Linked DNA regions of Homo sapiens: region 1 is linked to region 2. Evidence: promoter capture Hi-C in human tissues and cell types (Jung and others, 2019). All regions are on one chromosome and are shown on one strand. The core of a region is centred on a gene start or on the middle of the fragment in contact, and the rest is flanking DNA. Distances in the headings are between cores, read along the strand shown. Region 1 has its middle 17 kb from the start of LINC02283. Region 2 holds the start of SRD5A3 (steroid 5 alpha-reductase 3).

Region 1 (4,878 bases), core at 1,029-3,528, 1.0 Mb after region 2:
CCCCTTCTGCCTCTTGACCTCTTATGCTTCCCCATGTGACCCTGTGTCACATGACATGCCTTCTCCTCTTGGGAAATGTAGTAAAAATCTTTCAATGGCATTAACTTCTGTGTGATACCACTCAATTCCTTTTATTTATCTTGTTTTTATAGACAAGGTCTCAATCTGTCACCTATGCTGAAATGCAGTCGTGCTATCACAGCTCACTGCAGCCTCAACCTCCTGGGCTCAAACGCTCCTCTTGCCTCAACCTTCTAAGTAGCTGGAAGTACAGGTGTGCACCAACACCAAGACTAGCTAATTTTTTTTTTTTTTTTTTTTTGTAGACACGGGGGTCTCACCAGCTCAGGCTGGTCTGGAACTCCTGACCTCAAGCGATCCTCCTGCCTCAGCCTCCCAAAGCATTGGGATTACAGGCTTGACCCACCATGCCCGGCCTCAATTTGCTTTAAAAATTAAGACATGAGCACAAATCACACCTCTTCCTTTGTAATTCTAGCTATGTTACTACCTTTGAATTTTCTTTTGCTCACCTAAAATATATGAGTAATAAAAAAAATTTATGTGATTGTCATGAGGCTTATTTAAAATATATGATAACAGGACGGGTGTGGTGGCTCATGCCTGTAATCTCAGCACTTTGGAAGGCCAAAATGAAAGGATCACTTAAGACCAGGAGTTTGAGACCAGCCTGGTCAACATGAAGAGACCCCCATCTCTTTTTTTTTTTTTTTTTGAGACAGAGTCTCACTCTGTCACCCAGGCTGGAGTGCAGTAGTATGATCTCGGCTCACTGCAACCTCCGTCTCCCAAATTCAAGCAATTCTTCTGCCTCAGCCTCCTGAGTAGCTGGGACTACAGGCGTGCACCACCATGCCCGACTAACTTTGGTATTTTTAGTAGAGATGGAGTTTCACCATAGTGGCCAGGCTGGCCTCAAACTCCTGTCCTAGTGATCCACCCGCCTTGGCCTCCCAAAGTGCTGGGATTACAGGTGTGAGCTGCCACACCCGGCCCCCATCTCTTAAAAAAAAAGAAAAGTTATAAAAGTCTTTGCACATTATAATCATGTTCATTATTATCACTAACTCTCAAGAATGTGATCTGCTAGTGCCTTTTTCCCAGCAAACTCAGCTTCTTACAGGCACAATATTGTCAATGAATTCATGTTCATGAAGCATCACCCCTGTCCAGATGCAGGGCATCCTATAACCCAGGTAAATTCACTGTGATCTGACCAAGCAACAGATATAGAGCTATGAGAAACAGGATTGGTTGGTCTTACCTAATGCATACAAAACTCTTCACTTAAAAGAGAAAAATTAGTAAAAAGGACTCCCCCTGTGTATTTTTTTAAATGTTATATTTATGATCATTCTAGCTAGAACTTTTCAGGAGTCCAACTATTCAGAACTTGACTATTAAGCCTTTGTTTAAACCCAATTGTTAGTTTATAAAAACTTCCCGCTAGACTCTCAATTATTGTTGTTCTAAACACAATGATTTGAGAACAAAAATGAAACAAAAGATGTTTTAGAAAGAAAAGAAAGGCAATACATGAAAAAAAGCAGACAGAAGGAAAATGGCCTTTTCCAGCAGCAAAATGCTGTTCTTGTTATTCCAAAACATAACAGTAATTCTACAGAGAGCCTCCCACAGTTTCAAGTTGCTAACAAAGAAAGGCTTGTCCAATACCAGTCAGAGAGTATCAGAACCAAGATGGTGACTCTCTTTAAAGGAACTCAGCATGAGAAAATTTCTAGATTTCCCATAGCATTTAATGCTAACTCCATGTGGTTCAGAGTGAGAACAGATTGCAGCAGGATCACAACCAGAATGAGGCATGTGAGATGCCTGAGGTGCAAAATTTAAGGAGGCACATGGACTCCCAACTCTGTTGAGTGTCCCTGGTCCCCACCCTATGGTACAGCTACAAGGATAAAGAATTTCCATTCTAACACCATTAACATAGAGGAGCTCTATCAAGTGGCTAGCCCTCAGCTGTAGCATAGTCTAAATACACACTATTGTATGCTGTACTCCACGCTGAAGCAGGCCTCTATGGATGGACTGGGTCCTTTGCCAAGTAGCTTTCATAGAAATCTAACGACAGTCCTGAATTTGAAGAGGAACTGAAACTAAACATTTGCTTATTCAGACCAGAAGTAGAACAAACTCTCAGCCTCAGTGAGGTACAAGTCAGTGTTTCTGAGAAATTCACAAGTTCTACAAAAACACCTTTTATGAAAGTAGCCACCACCCAAGATCACCCACGTACTTAATTCCAGTAGTGCTTGGGGTAAAAAATTTCCCTATATCTAGTTCTTCCTTTAGCCTCACTCACTCCAGGCTTGGACAGGTTGCCAGTAAAACTCTGGGTTTTTTTTTAAATCTGGGATACAATTATTCCCATAAGTCTGATGGCAAATGAGTGCATTCTGTGGAGTGTTTGGTTTTTCCAGATTCAAGAAAAGCTCTATTTAACTGCAAAGGGTGCTTTTCAGCTGTGTCCCTACTAAAAGCTTCCCATACAGTCACTCTCAAGACTGTTGTTCTTTTTTCACTAGAGACGGCCACAGTCATTATGTTGTAAGCATTCTGAGTTGATGCACATGGGAAGGAACTTCGGGGTCAACATTCAATCTGGCTTCAGGAGTTGCCAGATTTGAGTGTTGGTTTCTCAGTTAGTCTGCTGCCCCGAAGCTCCCCCATAAATCCTTCTGTGAATGGGTAATTTATTCAATCCTGCAACAAATATTTACTGAGCACTTACTCTGAACCAGCACTGTTCCAGGCACCAGGGATGTATCAGTGAACAAAACATGCAAATTCTGTCATCACATAGTTTACATTCTAGAAGGGGAGGCAGAAAATAACCAAAAGCACGTCAATAAACTATACAGTAAGTTAGAAGATTATACGTTGTAGGGGAAGAAAGAGAAAGTTGAGCAGGGTAGGTGGGATGGGATGTGCTGGGGATGGGGGCAGCATAGAGGTGGACATGGTGGGATGGTGCCGATGGCAAGGTTAAATAGGACTGTCAAAGTCGGCCTCTTGGAAAAGATGAAATTAAGGAGATACTTTAAGGAAGTGAGAGGATTATCCAAAGATAACTAGGGAAAGAGCATTCCATACAAAGGGAACAGCCAGTTCAAAGGCCATGACAGGGGTGTGTTCTTGTTGTGCTCTAGAAACTGCAATGAGGCCCGTGAGGTTGGAAGGAAGTGAACAAAGAGAACGGAAGAGAACTTTGAAGAGGTGACGAAGGCCAGATCGTGACAGGCCTTGATAAGTGTAAGACGAAAAGACATTGCACGGTTTTGAGCAGAAGAGTGATCATGACTTCATTTTAAAAGGATTCCTCTAGCTGCTGCTTTGAAAATAGTCTGTTGTGGGAGGGAAAACAGCAAAGTGGGGAGACTTTTGAGGAGCCTACTGCAGTCATACAGGTGAAAGGTCATGATGGCATGGCCCAGGGTGGCAGCACTAGAGAGAGTGAGAGCGGTCAGATTCTGAATAGATTTCAGGTATGCTTAAGGGAGAACCAGAATCTTGGCAGATTAGACACAGAACGTGAGAAAGAGGATTGCCAAGGATGACTCCAAGATTTGGGGCATGAGCAACTGGAAAATTAGAGTTGCCATCAACTGAGATGATGGACACTGATGGTGGATCAAGCTTGAGAGAAGGAAGAAGTTAAGTTTTTTGTTTTTTTGGTTTTTTTGTTTGTTTGTTTTTTGAGATGGGGTCTCGCTCTGTCACCCAGGCTGGAGTGCAATGGCACAATCTCGGCTCACTGCAACTTCCGCCTCCTGGATTCAAGAGATTCTCCTGCCTCAGCCTCCTGCGTAGCTGGGATTACAGGTGCGCACCATCATGCCCAGTTAATATTTGTATTTAGTAGAGATGAGGTTTCACCATGTTAGTCAGGCTGGTCTCAAACTCTTAACCTCATGGTCAGCCTGCCTCAGCCTCCCAAAGTGCTGGGATTACAGGTGTGAGTCATCGCATCTGGCTTGGAAGTTAAGTTTTTTGTTTGTTTTGTTTTGTTTTGAGACAGGGTCTCACTCTAGTCGCCCAGGCTGGAGTGCAGTGGCATGATCACAGCTCACTGCAGCCTCGACTTCCTGGGCTCAGGTGATTCTCCCACCTCAGTCCCCTGAGTAGCTGGGACTGCAGGCATGGGCCACTATGTCTTGCTAATTTTTTGCATTTTTAGTAGAGACAGGGTTCTGCCACATTGCCCAGGCTGGTCTCAAACTCCTGGGCTCAAGTGATGGAAATTGTTTTGAAGGTAAGAGATCAGCTACTTTATATCCTGGCATGCCTGCAGTCCCAGCTACTGGGAAACTGAAGTAGGATGATCTCTTGAGCACAGGATCTCTTTGAGTCCAGCCTGGGCAATGTAGTGAGACCCCATCTCTAAAACAGATATATATAGCTGATAGATAGATAGATAACAGATAGATAATAGATAGATAGATAGATAGATAGATAGATAGATAGATAGATAGATCAACTATTTGACATTCAAATGAAGATGTTGAGTAGGCAGTTGGACACACAACGAGATAGCGAGAGAGAGAGAGAGAGAGAGGCCTGGGTTACAAATATACATTTAGGATCTGCCAGCATATAGATAGTATTTGAAGCCCTGAAGTTAGATGAGACCAAAAAAACAAACAAACAAGACTCTTAGAGAGTCTGCAGCACCTAACCTAGAGACCTGGGGCACTCTAACATGAATAGAGGCCAGGAAAAAAAGGATCAGCAAAGCAACTGAGAAAAAAACAACCTGTAATGCAGGAGAAATACCAAGAGAGTTTGATATATTGGAAGCACAATGAAGAAAGCATACATTAAAAATTAAAATGACAG
Region 2 (5,280 bases), core at 1,657-4,156:
GAGGAGAATTGCTTGAACCCAGGAGGCAGAGGTTGCAGTGAGCTAAGACTGAGCCACTACGTTCCAGCCTGGGCGACAGAGCGAGACTCCATCTCAAAAAAACAAAACAAAAGAGTACTACTAGATTTTGCACAGGAAAAATATTCACATATAAGTATCAAGGTTAACGTTACCAAATGATTTTAAATTTGGATTAACCAAGATATTTACTAAATGCTACCATCTGGGATAAATCCATTCTCACTTAATCTTTCACACAGATTGAGCTTCACATGGTACAAGATATTTCCCACGAAGTATACCAGAGGATAAGAGCTTGGGATTTAAATTCCAACAGGCAGGGTTCAGGTACCACCCTTGCTAGTACTAGCATCACTGCACAACTGCTATCTTCTAAGCTTGAGTCTGCATGTGTGTAAATGGGAATAATGACAATAACATCTCCCTCACAGGTCCACTGTGAGGATTAAATGAGGAAAGGCACGTACTCCTTAGTAGTCATCACATAATCATATATGTAAACATTTAGTCAATGGTGGTTACTATTTATAAACCAGTAAAATCTCTCCCACATGCTCCTTAGCCATTAGCACATTTTTTTAAATGATAAAAGTGATAAGCATCTTGTGAATGAAGACATTTTGGAAAATACAGAGACGTATAAAAAAGAGGCCATAGACTCTTACCTCCACCCAACTCTAATTATCTGCCTATTTCATATAAACAGGGGTATAAAATTTAAAAAGAGAGTAATACATGTATTAATTTTTTGGAGACACTGCCAGTTTTGATGCAAGTTATCTTTTTTTTGTCACAATAAAAATGCCTTTCATTATTGGTCTGGATGTTTTGTACCTTCTCCAGTACTAAAAGAAATGTCTGTTTAAATTTAGAGAAGGAGGGGAAGGGCACTTGAACACTATGGGAGGTTCTACTGTAGAATTCTGGAAGAAGAAAAAGGTGTAAATTATTTCACAATAGAGTAGAAATTACAGGAAGTCCAAACAGAACCAACTGTTACAGTAATGAATAAGGAAAAGGTACCAAGTCTCTTTCTTGGCTGTCATGTAATAACAGACTTGAGTTGCAACAGCTGGGGTGTATGCAAGTTCAGGGGATGATTTTACATGTGCCATTTAATCCAGGTACACTAGACTAGTACCTTTCTCAAAACTCAGAAAATAAATTGCTGTGAAGTATAAAAGGATTCAACCCTGATTACAAATGGGATAACAGGTAATTTTTGCTTAAAAAGAGCCTCTAGGAAACAGGAGGTTTGATCAATTTGTTTCATGTACTTCTACTTCTTCCCTTTAGGGTGCCTCAGAATGACCTAGTTCTCCCTTCTCTGTGTTAACACATGACACATCTTTCTCTGACAGTCAAAATTCGCAGATTATCCAAGTTTTAGAAGCCAAATTATACTTGTCCCTTTGTTGCCTGCGGACCTGGGGCACTGCCTATGAGTGTTTCAAGCGACAACCCAGATGTTTTTAACCTTTAAAAAAAAATTTTTTTTAAATACAAGGTATTTCTCTGTTGCCCAGGCTAGAGTGCAGTGCCATGATTATAGCCCACTGCAGTCTCCAATGCCTGATCTCAGATGATCTTCCTGCCTTCATTCCAAGTAGCTGGCACTACAGGCACACGCCACCAAGCCCTGCCAATTTTTTGTATTTTCAGGAGAGACGGAGTCTCACTATATTTCCCAGCCTGGTCTCGAACTCCTGAACTCAAGCGATCCGCCTGCCTCAGCCTCCTAAAGTGCTGGGATTACAGGCGTGAGCCACTGCGCCCGGCCTAAGATGCATCTTAAGGGGCACTGTTCTATTTCTACCATCTCGAATAGTATTTGGCCAACTCTTTCCAGCTATGTCCTGAATTTAAAGTGGAAAAAGGAGAAGAAGAAAATTATAACAGGTCTCTATTTAAAACCTGACGATTTAATCCTTCGCTGAACTGGGTTACAGAATTTTTCGAAAGTCAAATGGAGCTTCGGGACGGGCCTGCCTATGACCTGCACCTTGGGCCACCTTCCCCAGGGGCACCTGCCAAGGTGCAGGTTAGGGCGACTCAGTCCTTTGTCCCCACTGCAAGGGTTGGGAAGAGAAACGGGGGAAGCCGAGGCCGAAGAGCCGGCCTAACTTCATTTCCACAAATGATTCCCGGTGACCTCAAGTTAGAGTATGAGCCACTGGAGTGCAGGGTACGGGAAAAAGGAGAATTTGGGGCAAGGGGCACTTCAATTTGCCGCCTAAATTCGCATGACCAGGCCTAAATTCGGATGCGTTGCCATTTCCCACAGGGAAAGGCTCCGTGCGGCTACCAGTTCACATTCCTCCAGCTGAGTGCAAGCGGCTCCGCTCTCCCTCGGCGTCCGCGGACACCCGGGCACTGCTCCCCGGAGCCACGCAGCAGCCGGGGCATGGCCGGGGCCAGGCCGAGGGAGCGCCGTGCTGCGCCCGGGAACCCGCCAGGGCCTCCCAGGCCGGGTCCCGCCTCTGCTGCCCCCTGCTGGCTGCCCGCGAGCCGGGGCGCCCCGAACTCTCAGCGCCTTGACCACCGCGGCTCGGGACCGGGGCGCGGTTACCTCTTGGGGACATCAAAGGCTCGGCAGGCGGCGGGGCGCGACGGCTCCCCACACTTGGTTTTCCCATAGCGGATCAGGTCCTGGAAGATCGCGCAGCCCGGGAGCAGGCCGGGCGGCAGGAGCTGCAGCAGTAGGGTCAGCAGGAAGGCGGCGGTCAGCGTGAGCCACACCGCGCGCAGCGGGTTCAGCGCCGAGTGCTCGGCCTCCGCCCAGGGAGCCATGGCCCGCGTGCCCGCCTTCCGCGCTGCTGGCGCCCCCACCGCCCGCTAGCCCGCGGAAGAGCGGCCACTAGCGCGCGGCGCACCGGTCTCAGCCTAGCGGGACGTCGGTGACGCGGCGCGGGGCGGGGACGCGCAGAGCCCCTCCCGGACTCGCCGCTCAGCCGCGGAGGTCCTTGGTCCTGGTCGCGCTGGCGCTGGGTGGTCGCTCGCAGTCCCTAATCTGGGCATGGGGATTCTTAGATGGAGCTCCAGAATATGATTCATCAGAAGCAAAGACGCAAAACAGACGAGACCACGTGTCTGCCACTCTTATCAACATTATCTCCAAAGCAAAAAATGGAAACCTTACATGTTGCATTTTAGTTTATTTAGCTAAATTATGATACACTGACATGTTAGAATATCATGCAGTCATTGAGAATTATTATGACGAGTGTAGAAACAGGGAAAGCTGTTTAGGAAACAATATGTGAAGTGAAAAACAAAACCAACCATAAAAATACATAGCTATGATTGCAAACAACTATATTAATATGAATGTGTGTATATATGGATAAAGAAGGCAGATCACACCCAAAAATGAATAATTATGTTAGGATGCTGGAAATGTGTTGGATATGTGTATAATGTAAACATGTAGACAAGTAATTGCACATAATAATAAAAATCATAGTGGTAAAAACTGTGTTTAAAAAACAGCAGTCGCTTACCAATAGGGTTCCAATCCTTAGAAGCAAAGTTTTTAAATTCCATCAGCTGTTTCCTGTAACATTTATCTCAGGTAGTGACAATGCTATTTATTGACTCACTGATTTTAAACAACACTGATTTTATTTACTATAAGTGAAAATCTAGCTCTTTTAAGTATTTAAAAGTCTTTAAAATGTTAATTCTGAAGTATTGTATGCCTACTGTATGACAGGCATCATTTTGGATACTGAGGACAGAGGGGTTTACAAGATAATTGTCACTGCTTATTTGGAGCTTACATTTTTGAGATTGGGTGGTGGGTGAGAAGTGGAAGAGGGGAGAGGTAGCCAACTCATCACCCTTACCCCAATGAGATACCCGATATGTGTGTTGAATAAACATCAGGGTGGGTAGGTTAGTGGGACTTTGGACTGTTAAATGAGCAAGCTTTTAAAGTTTTCTTCTTTGTGCAAAAGACACCTAAGGCTTTACCCGTCCTTTGACAGCCAGGTGATTAAGGATGGTTAAATTGGCATTCTAGCTAGGACAATGAGGCCTTATTGAGTGATCCTGGATCTCTTTTGCGGGAGTCACCCTTTCACTGTTTCTTTCTTTTCTTTTTTTTTTTTTTGAGATGGAGTCTCGCTTTGTCGCCCAGGCTGGAGTGCAGTGGCCTGATCTCTGCTCACTGCAAGCTCTGCCTCCCAGGTTCACACCATTCTCCTACCTCAGCCTCCCGAATAGCTGGGACTACAGGTGCCCCCCCAACCACGCCTGGCTTTTTTTTTTTTTTTTTTTTTGTATTTTTAGTGGAGATGGGGTTTCACTGTGTTAGCCAGGATGGTCTTGATCTCCTGACCTCGTGATCCATCTGCCTCGGCCTCCCAAAGTGCTGGGATTACAAGCATGAGCCAATGCTCCTGGCACCCCTTCACTGTTTCTTTATTTTTCTTAGGTTAACTCTCTGTAAATGCAGCTGGTCTGTCCATGATCTTTTTCTTTTCAGAGAAGCTACTTGTAAGTGCATTGCAGGGACTCAGTTTCCTGGGTAGGAGTTTCTCTTACAGTTGTCTGACCTGGGGCAAGATTGAAAACAAGATAAGTGTGTGTGTATGTGTGAGTGTGTGTGTAGTGGAAACAGGAAGGGTTGAGGAGGCTGGAGGGGAAAATCATCCCATATATTTTTTAGATTTTTTTTTTTGAGACCGAGTTTCACTCTTGTTGCCCGGGCTGGAGTGCAATGGCACGATCTTGGCTCACCGTGACCTCTGCCTCCTGGGTTCAAGCTATTCTGCCTCAGCCTCCCGAGTAGCTGGGATTACAGGCATGTGACACCACACCAGGCTAATTTTGTATTATTAGTAGAGACGGGGTTTCTCCATGTTGGTCAGGCTGGTCTCAAACTCCCGACCTCAGGTGATCCGCTTGCCTCGGCCTCCCAAAGTGCTGAGATTACAGGCGTGAGCCACCCTGCCTGGCTATTTTTTAGATTTTAATCAGCATGCACAGTTTATATTCAGAGAAGCCCCCTGTAGATGGCAGTGGCTGAACAGAAAGCCGTAAGTTAAACCCTCCTGGGAGTATTTGTAAATGTAAATCCTTACTGGAGTGAGTTAGTTCAAAAGTGGAATACCAGGCTAACATCTGTTAGAAAGATCATTGCTAATAAATATCAGTGAGCATTTTTGTCTTTCTTCATTTAATTAACTGCACTATATGTTCAACAAACTACTGGTATTGCCTGCAGTAAACGGCAAAGCCATTTTTCCAGTTGCTCAG

What was found. Contacts are between HindIII fragments. The study calls those that stand out against the background at their distance.
Region 1: a contact is called between a fragment that was not itself captured here and the fragment with the promoter of SRD5A3 in region 2, in 1 of the 25 tissues and cell types used here (dorsolateral prefrontal cortex).

Annotation. Positions count from the first base shown.
Region 1 is chr4:54,313,039-54,317,916 of GRCh38, reverse strand. No RefSeq gene overlaps it. Among named protein-coding and RNA genes, the nearest start is that of LINC02283, 17 kb to the left of the region's middle. The HindIII fragment of the contact is 4,340 bases long and covers 109-4,448 here.
Region 2 is chr4:55,343,868-55,349,147 of GRCh38, reverse strand. SRD5A3 (steroid 5 alpha-reductase 3) reads right to left here and starts at 2,906. Exons shown (of 5, transcript NM_024592.5): 1 at 2,591-2,906. The coding sequence starts at 2,811. RefSeq lists silencers at 2,324-2,593, 2,804-2,973 and an enhancer at 2,425-3,185. The HindIII fragment of the contact is 5,833 bases long and covers 1-5,280 here.